Linked DNA regions of Homo sapiens: region 1 is linked to region 2. The links are contacts of gene promoters, found by promoter capture Hi-C in blood cells and fetal thymus (Javierre and others, 2016). All regions are on one chromosome and are shown on one strand. Each heading gives the region's core, a stretch centred on a gene start or on the middle of the fragment in contact. The rest is flanking DNA. Distances are from core to core; before and after follow the strand shown.

Region 1 (6,526 bases), core at 24-2,523, 2.5 Mb after region 2:
AATTCTTTCACCCACACACCCATAATGTTTTTGGCCCTAGCAACCTAGATTTCCTTCTTGCATTAAGGTTATACCACTTGGATGTTTTGAAGTAAGAGACCTATCTGGGATTACAAAATTGTGAGCAAAGCACTCAGGTACTGTTCGCCATGTAGACAACAAAAACTAGGAGCCAAAAACAAAAACAGCCTCTTCTTACCGCTGAAGTAAAGTTGTTTTTATAATCCATATAGACTTGGTTTAAAAGTACTATTTTCGGCCGAGCGAGGTGGCTCACTCCTGTAATCCCAGCACTTTGGGAGGCCGAGGCGGGCAGATCATGAGGTCAGGAGATCGAGACCATCTTGGCTAACATGGTGAAACCCCGTCTCTACTAAAAATACAAAAAATTAGCCAGGCGTGGTGGCGGGCGCTTGTTATCCCAGCTACTCAGGAGGCTGAGGCAGGAGAATGGCATGAACCCAGGAGGTGGAGCTTGCAGTGAGCCGAGATAGCACCACTGCAGTCCGGCCTGGGCGAAAGAGCGAGACTCCATCTCAAAAAAAAAAAAAAAAAGTACTATTTTCACGCATCACATTGTCTCATGATATGGACAATAGAATATCCTTGGGTCACAAAGAATTAGTTTACCGTCTTTTTTAGGTAAACTTAGTACCTATAAAAGAACACAAGGGAAAATTTCTGATGCTAAAACACGACAAATTAAAGACATAATCCAAAAAAAATTTTCCTTGTTAAAAAAAAATTGTAATAAAGCCTGAGAATGCAGTTTGAATGCATTCACCACATTCCATGAGAAATCAATAGAGGCCCATATCAAAGCACATCATGAAGAATATTTGGTTTACTGGGATAAAGAAAACATTTTAAAAGCACCAGGAGAAGCAAGAAAACAGGTTACCTACAAATAATAAAAACTGGACTGGCCCAATATTTAACAACCAATTGTATTCTGAAAGAAAAATTCAGTGAGCTAATAATTTGGCATCCTAATCACTTGTCTTTCATGCATAAAGGCAACATAAAGTATGCTCAGATGCATAAAACCAGAGTCTTACCTGAGGATACACTCAAGCCAATTGAAAGAAAAATCAAAGTGAGGAACTAAATTGAGAAAGACATGAAATAAAATTGATTTCCATACTCAATTTGTATCCAACTTTGGGAATCCAGTTTGATTATGGACTACATTAAAGAATGAAACGTCACCCTATAGTGCCTCCCTCAAATGTTTCTCTTCTGTTTTTCTCTCTTCATTCCAGAAAATATGTTTATTCAGCCTTCTCAAAAATGCAGGGAAATAGGCCGGAAATTATAAATCATCCTCCCCAAAATTGTACAGCAATTCACAGCAAAGAGAATAACATTAAACACTTAAATAATTTGCTAACCTAATGAACTTATTATCCTCCAAAAGGAAATAGAAACCACAATTCTAGCACCAAGGATTTTTTTAAAAATATAAATAATGTAAAAGTTAGAAATGTAATGGAAAATCACTAATTATTATCCAAAGCAGAAATTATAGGGCCTGGAAGAAATGTGTTATATCTCTTGAAACCTCTAATATTCATTTACATATCCATTTTACATATCCATTTAAGCAGGAAAAAGATCTATTACCAAAATTATTGAACTTCGGATGCTGGCCACAAGCACTCAATTTGGGAACTTCTGTTGTTATTCAACATGAAGCTACCCTATATAATTGGAAAGCATTGTAGTATAGAAAATACTTCTCATCTGTGGGGAAAATATAATTTATTTGCAATTGTACTGTTCCTTTCACTAATTTTAAGGAGGGAAAACACAATTTGGATTAGCCAGACAGATGGGGTCACATCACTCCTCAAGCTATTTATCAAAGTTTTATGGCAGGAAAAATTTGTATTTAAGAAGCAAATTATTTGTAAATGAGTGTTTTCTTTTCTTTTGTTTTGTTTTTGCAGATGCCAAAGCCATATATGTAACTCTTGAGAAGAGCCTTTTTTTTTTTTCCTCTAAAAAACATTACTCTCCATCTATGGTTCTCTCTTGCCCTTTTTTTTTTTTTTTTTTTTTTTTTTTTTTGAGACGGAGTCTCGCTCTGTCGCCCAAGCTGGAGTGCTGTGGCGCGATCTCGGCTCACTGCAAGCTCTGCCTCCCGGGTTCACGCCATTCTCCTGCCTCACCCTCCCGAGTAGCTGGGACTATAGGCGCCCACCACCACGCCCGGCTGATTTTTTCTGTTTTTTAGTAGAGACGGGGTTTCACAGTGTTAGCCAGGATGGTCTCGATCTCCTGACCTCGTGATCAGCCCGCCTCAGCCTCCCAAAGTGCTGGGATTACAGACGTGAGCCACCGCGCCCGGCCTCTCTTGCCCTTTTAAGAAAGGTACTGCCTGGTACAATAATGCCCATGATGAGAAGAGTAAGAAGATTGAATTATCTTGAAACCCTCTCAACAAGGGGGAGGAATCCAAGCACCTCCTTGCACTGCTCACAGGGACCAAGAATCGTATAGGAGGGACCAAGAATCATATAAGAAGGACCAACAAAAGAGGCTGTAGCTGTCCCAATGAATAGACATTTATAACAACGAAGAGTGCTTACAGAGAAAATCTGTTTTGCTCCAAAGCCAAGACTTTAAACCCTAACTACATTTGTATCAAAAACTTAATGGAAAAATTCACATAATATGGCAAAATGTAAGCTTTAGAATCAGAAAGACCTGAATTTAAATCCTCAATATCTATGTCTGGTATATAATTTGGGCAAATTATGTTTTGCTTATTACCCTGTTTGCTCATTAGCAAAATGAGGATAATAATACCTGCCTTATAGAGTGCTTGTGAAGTTTTGAGTAAATACAGGTAAACCATGTGGTTATTCTATGAATATTATTAATGATGTCCTCAGATTCACTTAGAAAGAAGAAGAAATTAAGGGGCTTATTATCTGAAGTACATAACAATATAAACCAGTAAACATTTATTATAGACCTGCTATGTGTCCTTCAAGATTCTGGATGCCATAGAGTATGTGAATGTTATATTTGCCACATTAATCAAATAATACTTCTTTTTTTTTTTTTTTTTTTTTTTGAGACAGACTCTCACTCCATCACCCAGGCTGGAATGCAGTGGTTTGATCTCAGCTCGCTGCAGCCTCCACCTCCCAGGTTCAAGTGATTCTCATGCCTCAGTCTCCCAAGTAGCTGGGATTACAGGCCTGCACCACCATGCCTGGCTAATTTTTGTATTTTTAGTAGAGACTGGGTTTCACCATGTTGTCCAGGCTGGTCTCAAAACTCCTGGGCTCAAGCGATCTGCCTCCCTCAGCCTCCTAAAGTGCTAGGATTAATGGCATGAGCCACTATACCCAGCCAAATAAAACATTTCTGAGGATGATAAACTAAACTACAAGCACTAGAAAAAGTGAAAAGGTGAGATCTCTATAGAAGGTAGGGACAAGAAGTAAAAAATAGGAGCTGAGCCTTAAAGAATGAGCAGATGAGAGAAAAACGCAAGAGAGGATAGAGCAATACACAGAGGGAATCAGGGGTGTAGGGTGTGTATGGATGTGAGAGATACAGAGAGAGAAAAAGGACCATATCTTGGGTTCCCAATGAATGCCAGTACTGCATTAATTGCTTCACATAGTAATCACATTTAATCATCAGAATAACTCTGCAAGGTATTATTCCATTTTACAGAGAAGGAAACTGAAGATCAGAGAAGTTAGAATGCAGAGCTTTTAGTGACATAGTCAGGATTTGAAAGGAGGTCTGCCTCATCCGATACTTTAATTCTTTTCAATACCATGTTTGTCAAAGTAAAGATAAACATGATCAGACTGGAATGCAGTGATTCTGTTGAGTAAAAAGTGCTTTTACGTTCAGAAGCCTCTGAATGTCCATTTTGTGACAAGATTCTGAAATTTCTTTCATTCCAAAATTGAGGTAAATGTCCCATTGCCCACTCTCTTTAATGTGTAGGAATTTAGCTCTTTTCCCTATAGGCAAAACTTGCAAAACTTTCAGTAACCCCTGGAAAGCCTACAATTCCCATCACATACAAAATTCCCTTCCCACCTACCTCCAAACCCCAGTAAACTCTATTTCTCACTCCAGGAGGAATTGATTTTCATTGGTATTCATTTGAAGTAGGGAAGGTCATGATTTAGAACATTGAAAATGTGTTGTCTAAAGAGCATAGTTTGTATCTTGCTTCAGAGAGATCTTTAAAGATGCCTTGGCTTAGCTGACTTTTCTTACCCTCCTGGTCCAAGAAACATCCTCCAGGGAGAAAGTCAATTTCAAATCTGCACACTGCAGAGGCTATGGGGCAGTCAATTGCAGAATGCAGATCAGCCTGTGTCTTCTCTTTTGAGATAAACAGAATCTGGGAAGAGTGTTGAAGGAAAAGTTTTTGAGCAATTCTCATAGCAAGGGTGTCAGGTTTTAGGGAGATTTCTTTATTGTGTGGCAAATACAGAATTTACTAACTTGCCTGCACCATTCTATTATGCAACCAGGAAACAAGGCTCCATGCGAGTCTAAAAAACCAGCATGTTTCCATTTGAAAGCCAGCCTGACTGTAGCCTAGATCCCTACTAACAGAATGTACTTTTTAGTTCCCAGGTGCTCCCCAAGCTTTGAATGTGATATGTAAACCTTCTCAATTAGTCTATTCATTAAACAGTTTTTTATTGCAAAAGTGTGTCCGTGACAGGAGGTATGTTTTTTAAATGGTGTGTATGGAGAAATTAATTATTCTGCAGTTTCCTGAGAAAGAATGCAGTAGAATCTGGACGTGTTTAAAGCATACTTAATTACTCAGACACAGATATTATCAAAGCACACAATGGCTCCATATATCCCCTCCTAACATCTCAAAAAGCATCAACTCTAACTTTCCATTTTATAATGTAAATTTTTTTACATTTTACTTATTTATTTATTTATTTATTTTTATTTTTATTTTTTTTGAGAAGAGTCTCACTCTGTCACCCAGGCTGGAGTGCAGTGGCGCTATCTCAGCTCACTGCAACCCCTGCCTCCCAGGTTCAAGTGATTCTCCTGCCTCGGCCTCCCCAGTAGCTGGGATTACTAATTTTTGTATTTTTAGTAGAGATAGGGTTTCGCCATGTTGGCCAGGCTGATCTTGAACTCCTGACCTCAGGTGATCCACCCACCTCAGCCTCCCAAAGTGCTGGGATTACAGGTATGAGCCACCGTGCCCGGCCCTACAATATAAATATTTTTATATAAAATTGTCTGAAGATAATAAAGACTATACTCGAGGGAGCAAATGTTAGGCCAACCTTTGCTGTCACTAATGCTGGCCAGGACCATGAATATTCATGCAGAATACTTTTCTAAAAATCACATGGAGTGAATAGCACTTCTTTTTCCTTTCCCCAACATTTTCCCACTCTGACTAGAATAATTCAAAACTTTGAGCTGGGCATCAACAAGATTACAGACATTTGTATGTTTCTATTGCAATAAGTGGCCAAGTTTGAAGCTTACAGGACCTCCTTTCTAAGTAAAGGTGCTGGAGAAGCAAGAAGCTTTCCTGACCTGAGCTCCACTCAAGTGGTGAACAAATAAAGGTGATCCAAGAAGTGAAAGACCAAAAGCCATAGATCGAAGACACTAAAAGAAGAATAAACCTCTAGCCTTGGAAAAACAGTGCTATTTATTAAACACATGTACCAGGCATATTTGTTTTGCAAACATTAGTTTAATCTTCACAACTACATGAGGGTAGCATCATTATCATCCATCTTTCATAATTGAGGAAAGTGAGGCACAGTTAGTAAGTAGTAGAGCCAGGGTTTGCACCAGGCAGTCTTGACTCCAGAGACTGCATTCTTAGCCACTATGCAAGCTGTGTTACTCACGGTTCTCCAGAAACACAACCAATCGGTTATATACTGGTATATGAAATACATTTACTATGAGGGATTGGTGATTATGGATGATTATGATTATGTGATTATGGATTACATGACTATGGAGACTGAGAAATCCCATGATCTGCAGGCTGGAGGCCCAGGAAAGCCAGTGGTACAGTTTCAGTTCAAGCCCAAAATCCTGCAAGCCAGTAGAGGCAATGGCGTTAAGTCCTGGTCCAAGTCCAAAGGCTTGAGAACCAGGTGTGCTAATGTCCAAGGGCAGGAAAATAGGGAGGGCCCAGCTAAGCATTCACCTTTCCTCTGCCTTTTTGTTCTTTTCGGCTCCTCAACAGGTCGAATGATACCCAACCACACTGGTGAGAGTAATCTTTACTCAGTCTAACGATTGAAATGCTAATCTCTTCCAGAAACACCCTCACAGACACACCCAGAAATAATGTTTTGCAAACTATCTGGGCATCACTTAGCCCAGCCAAGTTGAAACATAAAATGAACTTTCACTCAAGCTCATCTCTTTCTATTACTTTCTAGACTCTAGGCCCCATGAGATCAAAGACTGTATCCATTTTCTTCATTTGTGTGTCTCCAAAATCCTGGAACACTGTCTGGCAAATATTAGGTGCCCA
Region 2 (6,937 bases), core at 2,893-5,392:
AGAATTTACACTATATGTAAACATACACACATACAATACACATGTGTAAATACATATTAGTTAAGAGCTGGAAGGAACCTTTCAGATCTTCAAGTCTTTACTGTCACATTACAAATGAAGAATCTGAAGCCCCAACAGAAATGCTATTGAGAAGGCCACACAGAAACCTGACTTCAAAGTGAGATTTGAGAGAATAAGGATGTAGCAAGTTCCTACTATGTTCTGAGGGTTACAGGAGGCATATTCCATTCATAAGTTCTTATACCATTTCTATGATGTTGGTATCACTCCCATTTGATAGATGAGAAAATTGAGGCTTACAAAAGTAGCACAGCTAAGAAAATAGCACAGCTAATAAATGGCACAAATGAAATTAAAGCACTGATGTAACTAGGTTCTTTCTAGCATACCAGCATTTCTCTAAATACATTCACTGCCATATCACTGACATAATTTTGCTAATCCACGTGCCAACTGTATTTTAACTTTTTTGATTAATTAATGTAAACATTTATAAAGGAAAAGTTTATCACCATTTAAATAGCATGCCATAAAGAGAAGAAAACTATTGCTGAGTTTTAGCTGGACCCTGCTGCTACCTAAAGACATCAAAATTGCATCCAGCTCTCTTTGTTGAAATGGGAGATTAGCAATGGGTAGAGAGGTATTAAAGGTCTAGTCATACCAAAATGAGACTTAATGATGGAAAGAGAGTTGAGAGGGAAAACTTTTACTATGTGATCTAGCTATTTGATATAATACGTGAGTATCACCTAAAGTCATCTTTGTCCTACCTAAGATCATTTTTGGTTCTATCATGGTACCTGTTCTTCACTTTGAGAAACACTGCAGTACATATAGTAACTGGGCATGTTCTCCAGGTCATGGTTCTGGAACTCCATCAGAATCACCTGAAGGCCTATTTAAAACAGATTTCTGAGTGATCCCGAGTTTCTGACTCAGCATGTCTGCGGCAGGGCCTGAGGTTTTGCCCTTCTAATAGTTCCCGAGTAATTCTGATACAGCCGGCCCAGGAAGCATATTTGGGAACCACTGCTCTAGGTTGTACTTGGGGAGGAGGAGGTAGAGAACATACGGTAGCATGTGTGTGAAGATTTCACCATCAATCTTGCTTGTGAGTGGAGGGATCTGGAATTTTTAATTAAGCAGATGAGGCAAAGAAACAATGTATTCTTGTGTTCCTGTGTCACTTCTTCAACTTAATGAGTTCAGATTGATACTGCACCATACCAGAGCGACCTGCAAAAACTTTATCTAAGAGACAAAAGTACCTCCTCTCAAATAATACAAGTTGTTTTCAGGCTGCTAACTATCTGCAAGGCTCCCTGCATTGGCAACAGCAGCCAGTGATCACTAATAACGAAAGCAGAAAATGAGATTCTCCTTCTTTTCTCCAGACGTTTAAGACAGTACTTAATAAACAAAAAATGCCATATCCATTAATATTCTTTCTCATCTGGTTCTCTTAGTAGTAACTAGCAATTATTAAGTGCCTTCTGTGGGCCAATTATTGAATTGTACTGGCAATTACACACACACACACACACACACACTCTTTTAATGTGAGCATTTGACAGGCGCAGTAACTTGCCAAGGTTACACAATTATAGGAAGCAGAACTGTAATTCATATGCAAGTTTTATTCCAAAGCCCGTTTTTTTTCTACTAAACAATACCCACTCCTATTCTGACTACCCAACTTCATCTCTTAATAAAAGGGTATTTTATAAAAAATGAAAAGAAGAAAAGGCTCCAGAAACTTAAACTTTGTAGTTAAAAGAATTGTAAAACAATGTCACCAGAAAATGAGAAATCAGTGACATTTAATCAGCAGAAAAGCTAGAACTCCCTAGGTTCAAAGCAAAATTTAAGAATGCCTGGCTAAGTTTTACTTTAAGGAGAGTGGGTAAATGGGTAGAATCAGTCTCAGGAATCCAACGAGTTTTAGTTTACTTTTGAGTCACAAAAGAAATTTTCATTCCCTTCTGACATGGCAGAAGCTGTTTGAAGAATGAAAGTGGTAGTAGAAGCAACACTGGGCCAGGTGCGGTGCTTACGCTTGTAATCCCAGCACTTTGGGAGGCTGTGGGCGGATCACCTGAGGTCAGGAGTTCGAGACCAGCCTGGCCAACATGGTGAAACTCCGTCTCTACTAAAAAACAAAAAACAAAAAACAAAACAAAAATTAGCCAGGCATGGTGGTGCATGCCTGTAATCCTAGCTACTTGGGAGGCTGAGATGGGAGAATTGCTTGAATCCAGGAGGCAGAGGTTGCATTGAGCTGAGATTGCGCCACTGCACGCCAGCCTGGGTGACAGAGCAAGACTCCATCTCAAAACAAAACAAAATAAACAAGAAGAAGCAACACTGGATTGAGAGCTCTGAGCCTTGGACTCTGGTGTCCTTTTCTCTCAGTAATTCAGACTTCATTTCTCTAGGTCCTAGTTTTATCATCTGTAAACTAGGCAGCTAGACTAAGTTCCATTCCATTCCTCAGAGCTCCGTTCCTTTGAAAGGCAGCCTCCTTCACTGGACTTATCAGTATCACATGCTTCAAAAGATAAGGCTCATCGTTTAGCACGAGAGGAGTATGATTTAACTGTAAAAAGTCAGCATGTGGGTTTCAACCTTCAGTTTCTCAAGAGCCTATTAATCCACCCATATGTGATGTTATACTGCTATACTCTTTAAAAAATACATGATGAAAACCTGAGGAGAGATCCTGAACCCTTAAATCCATATAATTAGGCTGTAAGAAATGAATTTTCCAAGAATTTTTTAAAAAGTCATCAATGGATGAAATGACAAACTCAGTGGGTGTTATTAAGAGTAATTATAGTAACATCTAGACAGAAAACAACATCTGTGATCTGCCTGATTAATGGCTTAATGTAACTGTATGTCTGTTAATGGAATAATACTCCAAGCAGTCTTGACTGTACATTTGCAAGATCTGGAAACAGAGAAGAAACTGTGGAAGAAGGAAGTAGCAGAGTGCCAGATTGGCTTTGGGAGGTCAAGCTCCTCTCTACAGTTTTCAAATTCTCCTCTGCCTACCTGGCAAATTCAGAGAAAATTGCCTGGCAAATTCAGAGAAAAACCAAGTTCCACCAGACACAGGCATGCACTCCTGTAGGCAAAATAACTAGCAGCTCAGTATAATTTTTATTTTTAACATTACTTTTCACCTTAGGGTTAGGGATAGTGTCACTCCAGCCTTAATAGCAGGCCACAGGACTGTCCTAAATGTATTCATCACAGACCTGCATGCATGGGGCTTTTTTATTTTTTTTCTGGAAGGAGTAACTCATACTTAGGGAAAAAACACATTTTTCTTTAAGCAACAGTTTTCTCCTTTGAACTCAAAGGAAAGTCAAGCTTCCCACCTATAGTTGAAAACTACTGCAATATGGCAGCTTCAGAGTTTATCAAGATGAAATTGGGAAGCCATGTAATGATCTCATTCTCTTCCTCAAAGCTATAGTTTCTTTCTGCTTTGAGAAGAAGGCTGTAACTCCATCTGCTTCCTCAGGCTGCACTGGATGAATGCAGGATAGCAGGATATATTATTTATCATAAAATGTATTCAGGCACATTCAGACTGCAAGCCCTGTTGAGTGAGGAAGTAGCATTTGCCATCAGCTTATCATAATGAAATCAATTGACGAAAAATAAAACATTCTGTTAGAAAAGAAATGTGGATCTCGCACCCAGAAAGCCAAATGAAATTTCAAATGCAGTGTAAAGAAAAGTAGTCATATCCTGGGCCTAATTCAGAACTTAGACTTGATGATTCTAAGAGGCAATTACTCCCCCATTATATAGGTTAAGGCCAGGATGCTTTTACTTACCCCAGCAAAGCTGACGTCCCTATTGAGCAGACTCCAGTAGAAGAAAACAGTGCTTGAAAGTGGCGGTATTTCTCTCGCACACCTTGGCTAAAATAGTTCTCTTTCCTATGGAATTTTTCATTTTTCTGATTATATCTGATTATGTCAAGGCAAGGCCTCAAGCTAACACTCCCTCAGAAACTTAGAGAAGATGACACACTGAAAAGAAATAACTGTGACCAATGAAAGAAAAAGGAAAAATAAGCTGCCTCGCTAGGCCCAAGAGTGAAAGAGAAGAATAGCAAGTCTGTGAATGTGAGGCCGAGTCCCAGAACAGTGAAGGCAGTGTTCTTCGACTTGGCTGAACATTTACATTGTTAGACATGGTTCTTGCATAAATTTCTACTTCCTGTGAATCAATGAGCCAGCAATATCAAAATTCATGGTGATTTTTATTCTCTACGCATGGTACAAAATGACTTTGTCCATCTACCTTTGGTAATGCATGTAATTAAGTGTGAGACAATTATAACCTTGCAGTTCTCTTTGGGGGGCCTGAAATATGATTCAGCTGCTGGGTTTCAAGGGCACTTAAGAAAGAAAAGACTCTCTACAGTGACTTTTATATGCATGCTGATGATGAATTTGCCCTCAAAGCTTCAGAAGTCTCATTTTGCAGTAGTCATAGTTTTTATTGATTACTGTTTGATTATACAAAATAAGGAAAGTGGGACCAATATATTATAGTGGCAGATTATGTGAATGGTGCAAACTTACAGAAAATCAGAATTAGTAATGGGCTTATTGATAGCTTCGATTCATACCCTAAAATGAGATTTTCATGTATAATCCTTTTATTAAGTTACCTACAACTCAACTAATTGGCATAAATGTCATGAGCAAGTTGCTGTATTGATGGATAATTATTGATGGGTCCATAAATAAAAGAGAAGGTAGAATGAGCAGTAAGTTGATTTTAAGGGTAGTAAAAAAAAGAAATATTACCAAACTTAGGAATAAAAGGTGTTGGAAAGAAGTGAACATACTAACTTCATGAAAATCTTTACATAAGATTTTGGTTGGTTGGTAGAGTAATTGTGAACTTTGTATGTACCTACAGATCTTATCAGAATACCAAGAAGAAACATGGACATAGGAAACATTTTACAAGAGAAGAAACACCCACACCATCTAAAATCTGCATCGCTGTGTGTGTAAGACACAAGCTAGGAATTTTTAAGAACATGAAATTTGCCTATGCTTTAGACAGTCTAGAATTTTTAAAAGAGCGAGTTGGCATTTCAAAATTCTCCATCTGCTAAAGAGAAGAATGCTTAAGTCCCTGTTCCTTTACTTCCCTTCACTCAGAGTGCTCTGGCTTCTAGGGACGAGTGTGGTCTAGAATCACAGATACGGTTAAATTGCAGAATATTGCACTAGTGGGTAACTGGAGGTTATTTAGTGAAGCCCCCTTGTGCCATGGAGGAGAATGCTGAAGCTCAGAGAAGTGAATACAATTGCTCAAAGCCAAACAGGAATTTGGTGGTGAACATGGGACCTCAAACCACATTGTCTTTCTCCTAAGACTAGTATATTTTCCATCACTGGTCTTTCTCCTAAGACCAGCTCTTTCCCATTATCACTTTCCTGGTAAAGAGAGAGGCACATGCAATTTAGGAACAAATGTGTCTGTAGCATCCCTTGGGTTTTCATGCTAACCAATGAATAGAGAGTCCTCAAATATGTTCATTTTCCAAACTGCCTGGAAATCGTAAATACTAACAGACATATGGCAAATTATTTATAAAATGTGTTGAAATTAAGTGACACTGTCTGGCTAATTAGAACCCTAATAAACAAATAATAGATAAGAAATGCTATGTTCAGTTTTTATTAGAGGGACTATCTTTCTTTTGTTTGGCTGCTGGAATTTTGTAATAAATCATATTTTAAAAATCACACTCACAGAGTTTTACTTATAGTTCCTATTTCCAGCAGGCAATCTTTCTACACTAAGGCAATTTAGCATTTTTGTATGTATTTGCATTTCTTATTGACCACATCATGCTTTTCATTCCTGATTTTTACACAGTGTGTCATGTCTAGCTTTTGTATTCTTGCTGCCCAAACTAGTCAATTAAAGAAGCAATGGTAGACAGAGGCTTTTGCTCCCATCCCCGACACCAGTACCACACAACCAGGATGGATTTCATAATCTTAAGACTATCTTCTACAAGCTGTGCAAGTGTTATTAGTGGTAATTTTTATTTTTTATTATACTTTAAAGTTCTGGGATACACATGCAGAACATGCAGGTTACATAGGTATACACGTGCCATGGTGGTTTGCTGCACCCATCAACCCGTCACCTACATTTGGCATTTCTCCTAATGCTATCCCTTCCCCTAGCCCCCCAACCCCTGACAGGCCCCAGTGTGTGATGTTTCTTCCCTGTGTCCATGTGTTCTCATTGTTCAACTCCCACTTATGAGAACATGTGGTGTTTGGTTTTCTGTTCCTGTGTTAGTTTGCTAAAAATGATGGCTTCCAGCTTCATCCATGTCCCTGCAAAGGACATGAACTCATCCTTTTTTATGGCTGCATAGTATTCCATGGTGTGTATGTGCTACATTTTCTTTATCCAGTCTATCATTGATGGGCATTTAGGTTGGTTCCAAGTCTTTGCTATTGTGAACAGTGCTGTAATAAACATACCTGTGCATGTGTCTTTATAGTAGAATGACTTATAGGGTATATACCCAGTAATGGGATTGCTGGGTCAAATTGTATTTATGGTTCTAGATCCTTGAAGAATCTCCGCACTGTCTTCTACAATGGTTGAACTAATTTACACTCCCTATTGGTGCTAATTTTTACTGAGTACTTTGTGCCAGCACCATGTTAAGTGCTCTACATACTTTGACTCATTTAATTCCCTCAAAAACTTTAATAGATTGACGCAATTATTCTTATTCTACGAGAGAGAAAATGTAGGAAAAGGAATAAAATAACTGTGCTTTCACATAACTAGGAAGTATCTGGGACTCAAACTACAGATTGTTTAACCATTCACCTTTGAAGGACAT

Evidence for each region. Contacts are between HindIII fragments. The CHiCAGO score rates a contact against its expected background, and 5 or more counts as called.
Region 1: a fragment that was not itself captured here is called in contact with the fragment with the promoter of ATP10B in region 2 in 1 of 17 cell types (naive CD8 T cells); the score reaches 5.4 in naive CD8 T cells.

The regions. Positions count from the first base shown.
Region 1 is chr5:163,320,362-163,326,887 of GRCh38, forward strand. The region is part of intron 1 of LOC105377700 (a long non-coding RNA gene); the gene reads right to left. Among named protein-coding and RNA genes, the nearest start is that of CCNG1, 110 kb to the right of the region's middle. The HindIII fragment of the contact is 2,832 bases long and covers 1-2,689 here.
Region 2 is chr5:160,848,069-160,855,005 of GRCh38, forward strand. ATP10B (ATPase phospholipid transporting 10B (putative)) reads right to left here and starts at 4,143. Exons shown (of 26, transcript NM_025153.3): 1 at 3,873-4,143. The HindIII fragment of the contact is 1,109 bases long and covers 3,398-4,506 here.